Linked DNA regions of Homo sapiens: region 1 is linked to region 2. Evidence: promoter capture Hi-C in 16 types of primary human blood cells and fetal thymus (Javierre and others, 2016). All regions are on one chromosome and are shown on one strand. Each heading gives the region's core, a stretch centred on a gene start or on the middle of the fragment in contact. The rest is flanking DNA. Distances are from core to core; before and after follow the strand shown. Region 1 overlaps CPEB1 (cytoplasmic polyadenylation element binding protein 1). Region 2 holds the start of TM6SF1 (transmembrane 6 superfamily member 1).

Region 1 (5,455 bases), core at 1,569-4,068, 560 kb before region 2:
CCGCCCGCCTCAGCCTCCCAAAGTGCTGGGATTACAGGCGTGAGCCACCGAGCCTGCCCTAATGCTACTCTTTTAAAATGCAGGAAACCCTTTACGATACTAGTGCTGTCCGACAGAAATATAATGTGAGCTACTATGTAACTTTATTTATTTTTTGAGACAGGGTCTCCCTCTGTCACTCAGGCTGGAGTGTAATGGCGTGATCTCAGCTCACTGCAACCTCTGCATCCCAGGCTCAAACAATCTCCTGCCTCAGCCTCCCAAGTAGCTGGGACTACAAGCATGAGCCACCATGCCTGGCTAATTTTTGTATTTTTTTGTAGAGACAGGGTTTCACCATATTGTCCAGGCTGGTCTTGAACTCCTGGACTCAAACGATCTGCCCCACCTCGGCCTCCCAAAGTGCCAGGATTATAGGTATAAGCCATCATGGTCAGCCCTTATGTAACTTTAAATTTTCTAGTAGTCACACTGAAATTTTAAAACAGTGGTGACATTAATTTTAATAATATATTTTATTGGCCGGGCACGGTGGCTCACACCTGTAAACCCAGTGCTTTGGGAGGCCAAGGTGGGCGGATCATGAGGTCAAGAGATGGAGACCATCCTGGCTAACATGGTGAAACCCCGTCTCTACTAAAAATACAAAAATTAGCTGAGCGTGGTGGCGCACACCTGTAGTCCCAGCTACTCAGGAGGCTGAGGCAGGAGAATCACTTGAACCCAGGAGGCAGAGGTTGCAGTGAGCTGAGATAGCACCACTGCACTCCAGCACGGCAACAGAGTGAGACTCCATCTCAAAAAAAAAATTTTATTTAACCCTATATGTTAATAATATTATTTCCAAATGTGACAACAGCTGTGTTTCCAAAACTCAATGGGGCCACATTTAGCTGGTAGCTACCATATTCGTACCATATTTGACAGTGGAGATCATGTTAGCGTGAACCATTCAGGAATGGGGGAAGAATTTGCAGATCAAGATGGGAAGGAAAGATAAGGGACTCCTTCAGTGCAGGTAGAGCATAGGTTAAGGTTAAAGGATTCAGAGTGGAAGCCAAGATGCAGATAGAACACTTGTCTGAAGGGTAAGCCCAGCAGTTGAACTGAACCTCTCCTAGCCCTTAGGCACTCTGGAGACCTATTAAGAGAGCTGGAAGAAGCCCCATCCTGCCAAGTTCCTCCTCCGCTCCTGGGGCTTCTGAAGTCCCTGTTCTCAATCTGCTGCACAGTATTGGTGAGTACATGGTGCTCCTTCCTGACCAGATTCAGTGTGGGTGTGAAGACTAAGCATTTGGGGAGGTGGGTTAGCCACATGTTAATCACAGAGGTCAGGCTCTGCTCCACCTCCATACCTCATCATTGACATTTTGCCAGGACTGGCGAATTGACCTCCTTTCTCAGAGGAGCTGATCAAAACCTAGTGGTTAGGCCCACAGACTTCTGAGTTAGGAAAGCACAGGCCACACTCTGTTGCCTGACTCACTCAGAAAGTCCTCCTCCAGCCTGACCTGGTCTCTGACCTTAGACAATGCCAGAGCTTTTCAAGAACTTTTAATAAAAAACTCCAGGCAAGTTCAGAGAATTGCAGCCTTTTCATGAAATAGTACCTGTTGTCTGTTCCAAACTGGTTTCGCTGTGAACTCTGAGCTTCCAACAAAGTTCCTACCTCACTCTCACTTCTTATCACCTCCTGTAGTCTCCAATAGCTTTTTCTCCCACTGCGTGGGAGATGGTGGGTAGAGGGCTAGATACAGAAGGGCCAGTACTCGTGACTTGTCTAGAAAAAGATATTATGGTGCTGGTATATGCTGATCTGCAGACCTGGGTCAGGCCTCTCTCCTCACTCCCATGGGGAAGTATCACAATCTTGGTCTACTCCCAGGGGCCAACCAAGCTTTCGCACACAGAAGTGGGACACTTACCAATGGGATACTTGTGCTTATCTGTGTCAATCCCGGCATACACCACTCCACCAAATAGGTCGTTCAAGATGGCTGCCAGGGCCTCAGCATTTAGCATTCCATGCAGAGCACCGACAAACACCGTCCTGCTGGGGTCAAGCCTCTGAGATGGGCTCCGGACAAAGTTACTGTCGGCTAATACCCAGGGGATCACCTGCACCTGAAAACCACCCAAAGGTGTATCAGCCCTGGCAGAGAGCCACAGAGAGAGAGGTGCTTGCACGGCAAGGTACGTGCTCTGGAGATACTGAAGCTAAGCTAACGCCCTTACAGGGGTGAAAAGGTGCTGTTGCCCAATCTCAGGCACACAGGCGTCCAATAAACCACCCTGACTCCACCCCAACTGGAGTTGAATTTTACTGAGTCCATGTGTCCAGAATGGTAGAAGTGGACACAGTACTCACTCATGCTGGAGAGTAAGCAAAAAAGTACCACATGGCCAAACCCAGGAGCCCAGCATTCTATTTCAACCTCCAACTGTGTAGTTCCAACAAAGGGCTGTGGACACTGATGAAAAGGGCATAATCTGAAGTCCTCAAGAAAGGAAGGACTCACAGAGAAATTAAAGGCTAGGATCCTGAAGGACAGAGGGGTGGGAGTGCTTACGATATTTGTATGAGATGGTTACTGGCCCAACCTAGCCTTCAGAGGGTTTGTGCCAGAGCAGTGGAAATGACTGGCGAGAGGTTGGGTAGAAAGTCACATACAAGATCCCTGGAGTCTTAAAGGGCTGGGGCTGACCATGTCCTTTGCCTCTGAATCTCCTGAACCTGGAACAAAACCTTGTAGAGCAGGTGGAGGAGTCCAGAATGAAGTGAAGATCTAAAAATATGTCTTGAAGCAGGAAGAGATCTGAGGCAGAAACCAGCAAGGAGGCAAAAACAGTAGTTTCAAAGGACAGGTGATTAAGACTTGGACAAGGCTGGTGGCAACGAGCAGAGAACAGGCCAAGACCAAAGAGATTCTTCAACAGAAGAGTCTGCAGTACTCAGACAGCATAAGCAGGATGGGCAAGCAAGGAAGAATCAGGCCTGGTAGGTGCTGGGCCTACACGGTCTTGGGATGAGAGGACCTGGCAGAAGTTACAAGAGGGGAGCCAATTTCACTGGAAGATGAAAAAGCCAATTTTGCCCACAAAAGAGTTTGGGATTACAGGACATCCCGAAGAAGGATCCCACAGGAAGGTGAGGCTCAGGTAGGACATGAGGCTAGAAAGGTGAATCTGGGTCTAAAGGTGAGAGAAGCCACAAAGTGAGTCATTTATCTGAACTAGAAAAGAAGAAGGGAGTCAAAGATTGGCTATATTGGCTATGTTGGTGCTGGCGGGGAGAGGAACACAAAGGAAAAAGAAAAGTAGAGAGGAAGGAGAACTGCATCAGCCTATAGCCAGTGAATCAAAGAAAGATTAAATCCCTGTAAGGTGATGGGAGGGAATGGGAGACAGGATGGTGTCTACAGGGGCACTGAGGAGGAAGGGGAAGGGCTCTGTGATATGCATATGGCCATCTCTGGTTGTGAAAGCAGGAGGGGAGGAAAAAGGAGCATGTTAATTAAGTCCTAGAACATACTAAGGTGGGAAGACTACACAAGCTCCAGAGAATAAAGAAGCAGAGAAGGTAGGGAAGCTGTGGGTCACTGTGGGCAGCCAGAGGATGAGCCTGCCCTCTCTCTAACACAGAACAAGAGCCAGCTTTGTTACATGGATTTATTTTAAATCTAATGTGACCATCCCAATAAAATAGGCATTTCTCCTCTTACCCTATAGATTTTTTTAGAGAAGCTTTAAGGTTTACAGTAAATCTGAGCAGAAAGTACAGGGATTCTCCAAATACTCTCTGCCCCCACACTTGCGTGACTTCCCCACTATCAGGATCCCGCATGAGAGTGGAACATTTTTTTATACTGACCCATCATCCCCACCGAAAGTCCATGGTTTGCATCAGAGTTCACTCCTGGTGTTTCTTTTACCTTCTATGGGTTTGGACCAAAGTATAATGACATGTATCCACCATATACAGAATAGTTTCACTGCCCTAAAAATCCTCTGTGCTATGTCTCTTCATCCCTTCCTGCTAAACCCCTGGCAACCACTGATCTTTTTTACTAAAATAGGCATTTTAGTTTCCCATCTTATAGAAGAGAAGAGGAAACAAAGTTTCAGAGATATTAAATATCTAGTCCAATGTCACAAAAGTTGTGTGCTCTCAAATCCGATTTTACCACCGCACTGATTCCTGAGCTCAAAACTTGCTTTGACAAGTGGTTCTCAAACACTACCCACTAGAACCACCTGGGGATCTTTATTCAGTTGGAGATTCCTAAATTCCACCCAGAGTGATTCAGTAAGTCTGGGATAAGGCCCAAGAATGTGCAATGAGATCCCCAGGTGAGATAAACTCGTTAGAGACCCATGCTGCCAAGGATACATAAGGCTGATATTAGAAAAAGCGTAGGAAGAGAGAATCTTATGGGGAAAACCCACAAAACTAAATAAAGCCCTGAATAAGAATGAAGAAGTGACCCACAGGTGGGTGTGGGCTAAAGAGGAATTCACCCCCACAGACTGGGAGGTCACAAGGCACAGGAAGGGCAGGACCAGGGAAAAACAGCTGTAGGTTTATCAGTTAAGTCCAAGTAGAGAAGTTTGCTGTTCTCAATTTCATTTCTAAGACAAGAGGTTTGAAACCAAAGTGTTGGCTACAAGAAAGAAGAGCAGAATAAAGACGGGCAGACAGTTTGATTACCATGGGCAGGCATGCGCATGTGTGCATGCACACACCCCATTAAGTCCCAAAGGTTGCTTTTTTTTTTTTTTAATGTAATTGAGAGGATACTGCTATTTTATTGTGGGACAAGAAGAGCCTTCTTGCCTCAGCAGGAATACTCCTTGCCTGCAGCCTGCCTATCCACCTACCACAAGAAAATCCAGTGCCTCAATATTCCAAGACCCTCGATCCAGAAAGGACATCACGCTAACTCACCTCCTTGCAGCGCATCCTTCGGCTGGACATCTTGAAATAATATTCACTCAGGCCATCTGGGCTCAGCGGGTCATGAGAGCAAGCCTGAAGCAAGGATCGGACAGACTTCTCTAGTTCGAAGACCAGATACACATACCCTATTCCCAATGAGAGGAAAAATCGCATTAATATCCCTTAGGTGGCCACTCCTCAGCCTTGGCTTTGCAGCAGGGCGTTTCTTCCAAGAAAGAAGGTCTTGTGTATAAGATACATTTTTGTTTTACTCCTGAAAAGTCGTGTTGAGTGGAAGCATTTGCTATGCAGATGCCCTGGGTTGTGGGCCTCCCTCCCACCCTGGTGAAGGAAAGGACTGGCAAGCTGAGACAGAGGATCCCACCATTACCACAGCTCTCTATGCAAGAACACAGAGCATGTTCAGGTCAGCAGAGCCAGGCTTTCCTGGTGGCAGGAAAGATGGCAGGTATTGCTTTAAACACCTACTTAAACCATTAGTTCAGTTCAATGAAGATG
Region 2 (4,890 bases), core at 805-3,304:
ATGGAAGGGATGGGCTGGCTTGGGAGCCTGGCTGGGAGCTCAGAGGTATAGGAGGAAGTGTCTCTTGTCAGGGAGGAAGTAGGAGTTTAAGGAGAGTGGTGAAGGTTAGGGGTGGAAGAGGGTGATGTGCAGGTGACAGGTGAGGACACCTCTTGGAGAAACTTTGGATATGTCACAGTGTGGGCCAAGGCTTAAACGTTATGCACTCAGAGCTGGAGAAGCCTTCAAGAAGAACTAGGATGAAGGATTAGGAGAACTGGCATTTGAAAAGTGGAGTGGCCCTGGAGCAGGCCATACCTCCTCGTAGCTCATTTTCCTCATGTCTAAAATGAGCCAAATGGTCTTTTAGAGGCTAGGTGCGGTGGCTCACACCTGTAATCCCAGCACTTTGGGAGGCCGAGGAGGGAGGATCACTTGAGCCCAGGAGTTTGAGACCAGCTTGGGCAACATAGTGAGACCCTGCCTCTACAAAGAAGTGGTGCGAGACTGTAGTCCCAGGAGCTAAGGAGGCTAAGCTGGGAGGATGGCTTGGCGTGGGAAAGTGGGGACTGCAGTGAGCCCTCATCTCTCCACTGCCTCTAGCCTGGTTTGCAGAGTGAGACCCTGTCTTAAAAAAATAAAAATAAAAATAGGCTGGGCGCGGTGGCTCACGCCTGTAATCCCAGCACTTTGGGAGGCCGAGGCGGGCGGATCACGAGGTCAGGAGATCAAGACCACGGTGAAACCCCGTCTCTACTAAAAATACAAAAAATTAGCCCGGCGCGGTGGCGGGCACCTGTAGTCCCAGCTACTCTGGAGGCTGAGGCAGAATGGCGTGAACCCCGGGAGGTGGAGCTTGCAGTGAGCCAAGATTGCACCACTGCACTCCAGCCTGGGTGACAGAGCGAGACTCTGTCTCAAAAAAAAAAAAAAATAAAAATAATAAATAAATAAATAAATAAATAAATAAAATAAACCCCTCAAATGGCAACAGCAAAAACACATAAATGGTCTCTTAAATTCCCTGGAAGTTGTAAAGACAGTAAGTACATGCCGGTACCTCCCTCAGTTGCTTGAGCTGTTCTCCTGGAACTCACTGCCCTTCAGATAGCCACAACACTTGACACACAATATTTTCCATACCCGTAGGCATCTATCATTCAGAGGAAGAGGCTTATCTTCCAGTCTTTGTACCCTGCAGGGCCCAATGCAGGCTGGCTGGTGGGCACCTGGCCTCCAGGAATGCTTCCTGGAATAGCAATGAATGGCGCTCTAGTCTCTTAGAGTCTCAGCATTTATGTCCATTTCAATTAAAGAAAAAAAAAAAAAAAGAATCGCAGGAGGTGGTGTAGTGAGCAGCACAGGATAACGCGCTTCGTAGGTATGAACTCAGTTAACCCCACAGTCACACTATGAAGTGTGTTATCCCCATTTCCCAGATAAGGGAAAAGACAGAGAGGTTAAGTAATTTGACCAAAGTCAACAGCTGGTGACTGGAGAGCCAGGTTTAAAAACCGGATGCCGGCTCCGTGCAGCAGCCCGCCGATGGCTACTGGAGCGGAGAGGTTCCGAGGTTTCAGGGGCATTTTGTCCTTTCCCACTTCTGGGCCGTGGGCTCCCCCATAGACGATCCCGCGGGCCCTTCCTCCTCTGACACCCTCGGATCTGGTTCCACCTTTCCCGGACCGCAGCTCAGCCCCGCGCCTCTCCAGCTCTTCGATGACCGGTTCCCGGCCGTGCCCCGGGCCCTCCCTCGGAGCGCGCGCCGCCAGGGGCACCTGTCCCTGCGCGGGGGTGTCGCCGCCCCTCGGCGCCGCCGGGCGCTTGCCGCTGAGCCGTGGCGCCCCTGGCAGGAGCACTGCAAGGACGCCTCCCGGGACTGCACCGCGGCCCTGCGCACTTGGGGCGACGGGGCCAGGCGCGGGGGACGGCTGCGGGCTGGGAGGGCGCGCGGAGGAGACACCGCTGAGGGGACGCCGCTGAGGGCGCCACGCGGGGGGCGCGGCTGAGGCGCCTCGAAGGGCAAGCGCCAAGGGGGCGCGGGCGCCGCCGGAAGCTGGGGCGGGGCGCCCAGCGGGATGCGGTGAAGGGCGAGCGGCGCGGCGGCTGCGATGAGTGCCTCTGCGGCCACCGGGGTCTTCGTGCTGTCCCTCTCGGCCATCCCGGTCACCTATGTCTTCAACCACCTGGCGGCCCAGCATGAGTGAGTGAGCCGGCGCGGCGGGGGTCGCGCCGAGGGGCGGCGGGAGTTGGCTCGCCGCGACGGGAGCCTCGCAACTTTTCCGAGGGGGCTGGGACCGTCCGCCGCGGGACAGAGGTTCGTGGCCGCAGGGGCTCCCCGCGCCTGGCCAGACTAGGGGGGCGCCCCAGGGGTCGCACGGGCCGGGTCTTGGAGCCGGGCCCTGAGGTGCCCAGGCTGGCGCATTTCGGGATGTTGGTGCCAGCACCGCGCCAGGTGCCCGGGGTCACAGGCGTCAATACGGCCATGCCCCTGCCCTGGAGGGGCCCAGGGGCCGGTGGGGAGCGGAACAAACACGGACACTACGAACCTGGCCGTGTCAGCTCGTTTGTGCCTTGTTCTTTTTGCATCTCACGGGAACGTTTCCATGTATGGACTTTCGCATACTTATCATTTCTTATTAATTTTAGAAACTGTTGTGAATGACTAGCAGAAATAGCCCGGAACCAACAGGCAGAGACGTGGGTTCTAGGCCTGGCTTTGGCACTGACGGTGTCTGGCCTGACGGTGTTTGGCACTGACGGTGTGGTCTGGCCTCGGTTTTCCGGTCAAGTGGACTTTGTGTGCGTCCTATTGTAAGGTTCCACCGAGACCTCTTTGTGAAGGGGCGTTGTGAATGGAGAAGTGCTTCCCAGTGCCTGCGCTGGGGTAGGATGGGGACAGGCAGCAGAGGCAGAACACTTCAATGTGAAGGAAATGGGTGGGGCTGATGGAGGGGGACAGGGCTTGGGTTCGAAGCCCTGCCTCCCACTCCACTGCAGGGATCACGGACTAACCTGCAGCCGGCAGCTGAAGGCCTGAGGGTCGCCGGGTGTTGGGACAGGCGCCAGCCTCTGTTCCTGCTGATGTTGGTTGCTGTCTGGAGGGAGGAGGAAGTAACCTGCTATGTCTCTCAGCTGTTGGTGCTAAGGAAATTGCATCAGTCTGTAGGCTGCAAACCCCCTTCAGCTGGTCAGGCCGTGGAGTGTCTGTACATAGGGTGGTAACTTCCTCCTCTCCAGCTGCCTGGCCGCCTGATACAGGCAGCACCCACACTGAGTGCTCACCAGGCACCAGCAGTGTCTACCCTTGGTCTGGCCCAGTCTCTGGAGGCATCCCCTGGAGGCAGCTGCTCTGGGCCACCGAATATTACATGCCTGTCAATATAGTGCATGGGGGACCCTGTGCTCCAAAAAATGGCATTACGGGTAGTTCAGTGAAGATATACTGAGTGCCTACTGTGTGTTTGGCACTGTTCCAAGTGTTGGTGACATAGCTATGAACAAGCCAGAAGAGGCTGTGGAGGCAGGTAATGAGATAGACATCAACAAACATTAATACATCGATAGTGACATGCTATGAAGATAATAAAATAGGGTGACTGGGGAGGGGGCTGGTGGCCAGGGAAGGCTTCTAGGAGGAGGTAACACTTGAGCTATGGGAAGATCTGGGAATGGAGCCTGTCGGGCAGGAAAATGGAGCAGTGCAGGGGAAGGAATTGGATGGGCGTAGTAGGTATTTTGGAAGGTGAACAGATGGGGCTTACTGAAGAGGGTTGCATGGCAGCAGAGGATTTGAGGATGAGCCCTAGGTTTTGGCCTCAGCCACTGGGAAGATGGTGATGGCATTTACTGAATACAGACTGAACTATGTATTGCTGTGCATGATGGAGCGCACTGGCAAGCACTACAGCATTTTGAATAATTAGTGTCAGCCATTCTTCCTGTCCTCTTGCAGGTTAAAACCCCCGTGGCCTTTGATTCCTCTCTTCTTTCTCCACTCCCTTCCTCCTACTGTCTGCTTCCCCATAAGTCCTGGGGCTCTAGTGTCTGTTCCCTCCTTTCAGTTCTCCCTGGCACTGGCCCTTTCTGACCTGGACTGTGGCAAAGGCTCCGGTGCAAGTCTCGCTGCCCAGCCCCGCTGCGTGTTTCTCGGCCTCGGCCCCCCAGTCCCAGCCCACGCACTAGTGCTCCTGCCGCACCAGCCTGCCTTTGCTCCTTGACCATTCCTCCTCCTCTCCAGCCTCTAGCCCGGACTCCTGCTGCTCCCTGACAGGGATGCTGCCTTCCTCCTATCGCAGACTGTTGAAGCCGCACCTGGACTTTATGGCCACTTCTACCTTCTGCAGACCCTCCCTCTCTCTCCTTTGAGCTCCCTCAGTCCCTTGTTTGCACCTTTCTCCCGAGAGTTACTTTCCTGTGGTAAGAACTTACCTGCCCCGGCTATAGCTCACCCCTCTGTACTGTCCTGCCCAGGCCAGCGCCGTGTGCATCGTAGGCACTCAGGTATGTTTGACTTTGTTGAATCGAGTTTCCTTCCCACCAAACCTTTTATGCAACTCTGAAAACCAGAAAAAGAAAATTAGATTGAGAGGTCAGGAAAGGATTGAGCGTGTTCTGTCTCCCTCTCTCACTGAGAGAGACACACTGCTCACACTCATCCTTGCATGTCCCCTCTCAGTAGGTGTCTGTTCATAGAAGGGCATCAGCAGCCCTTCCCACCCCCCAAGACTAGCAACTTTCTCATCCTGGGGTTAGTCGCAGCCCTTACCTGTCCCTGAGTCCCTGCAGGACCTGTTTCTTCCTGTGGTGAGCAGGTCCTGCACTTGGCTGTTGTAGGAGGGTCTCTGGGGACAGTGCCAAGAGTCAGAGACAATCTGCTGCCCTAGTTTCCCTTCATTCTTCCCTCCTCTC

The links. The method cuts DNA at HindIII sites, captures the fragments that hold promoters and counts their contacts. A CHiCAGO score of 5 or more calls a contact.
Region 1: a fragment that was not itself captured here is called in contact with the fragment with the promoter of TM6SF1 in region 2 in 2 of 17 cell types (M0 macrophages and monocytes); the score reaches 6.1 in M0 macrophages.

Annotation. Positions count from the first base shown.
Region 1 is chr15:82,547,535-82,552,989 of GRCh38, forward strand. CPEB1 (cytoplasmic polyadenylation element binding protein 1) reads right to left here. Exons shown (of 13, transcript NM_001365242.1): 9 at 4,946-5,082; 10 at 1,926-2,124. Among named protein-coding and RNA genes, the nearest start is that of RPS17, 9.8 kb to the left of the region's middle. The HindIII fragment of the contact is 1,847 bases long and covers 1,896-3,742 here.
Region 2 is chr15:83,105,591-83,110,480 of GRCh38, forward strand. It overlaps TM6SF1 (transmembrane 6 superfamily member 1), which reads left to right and starts at 2,055. Exons shown (of 10, transcript NM_023003.5): 1 at 2,055-2,182. The coding sequence starts at 2,091. RefSeq lists silencers at 1,683-1,962, 1,993-2,112. The HindIII fragment of the contact is 11,695 bases long and covers 1-4,890 here.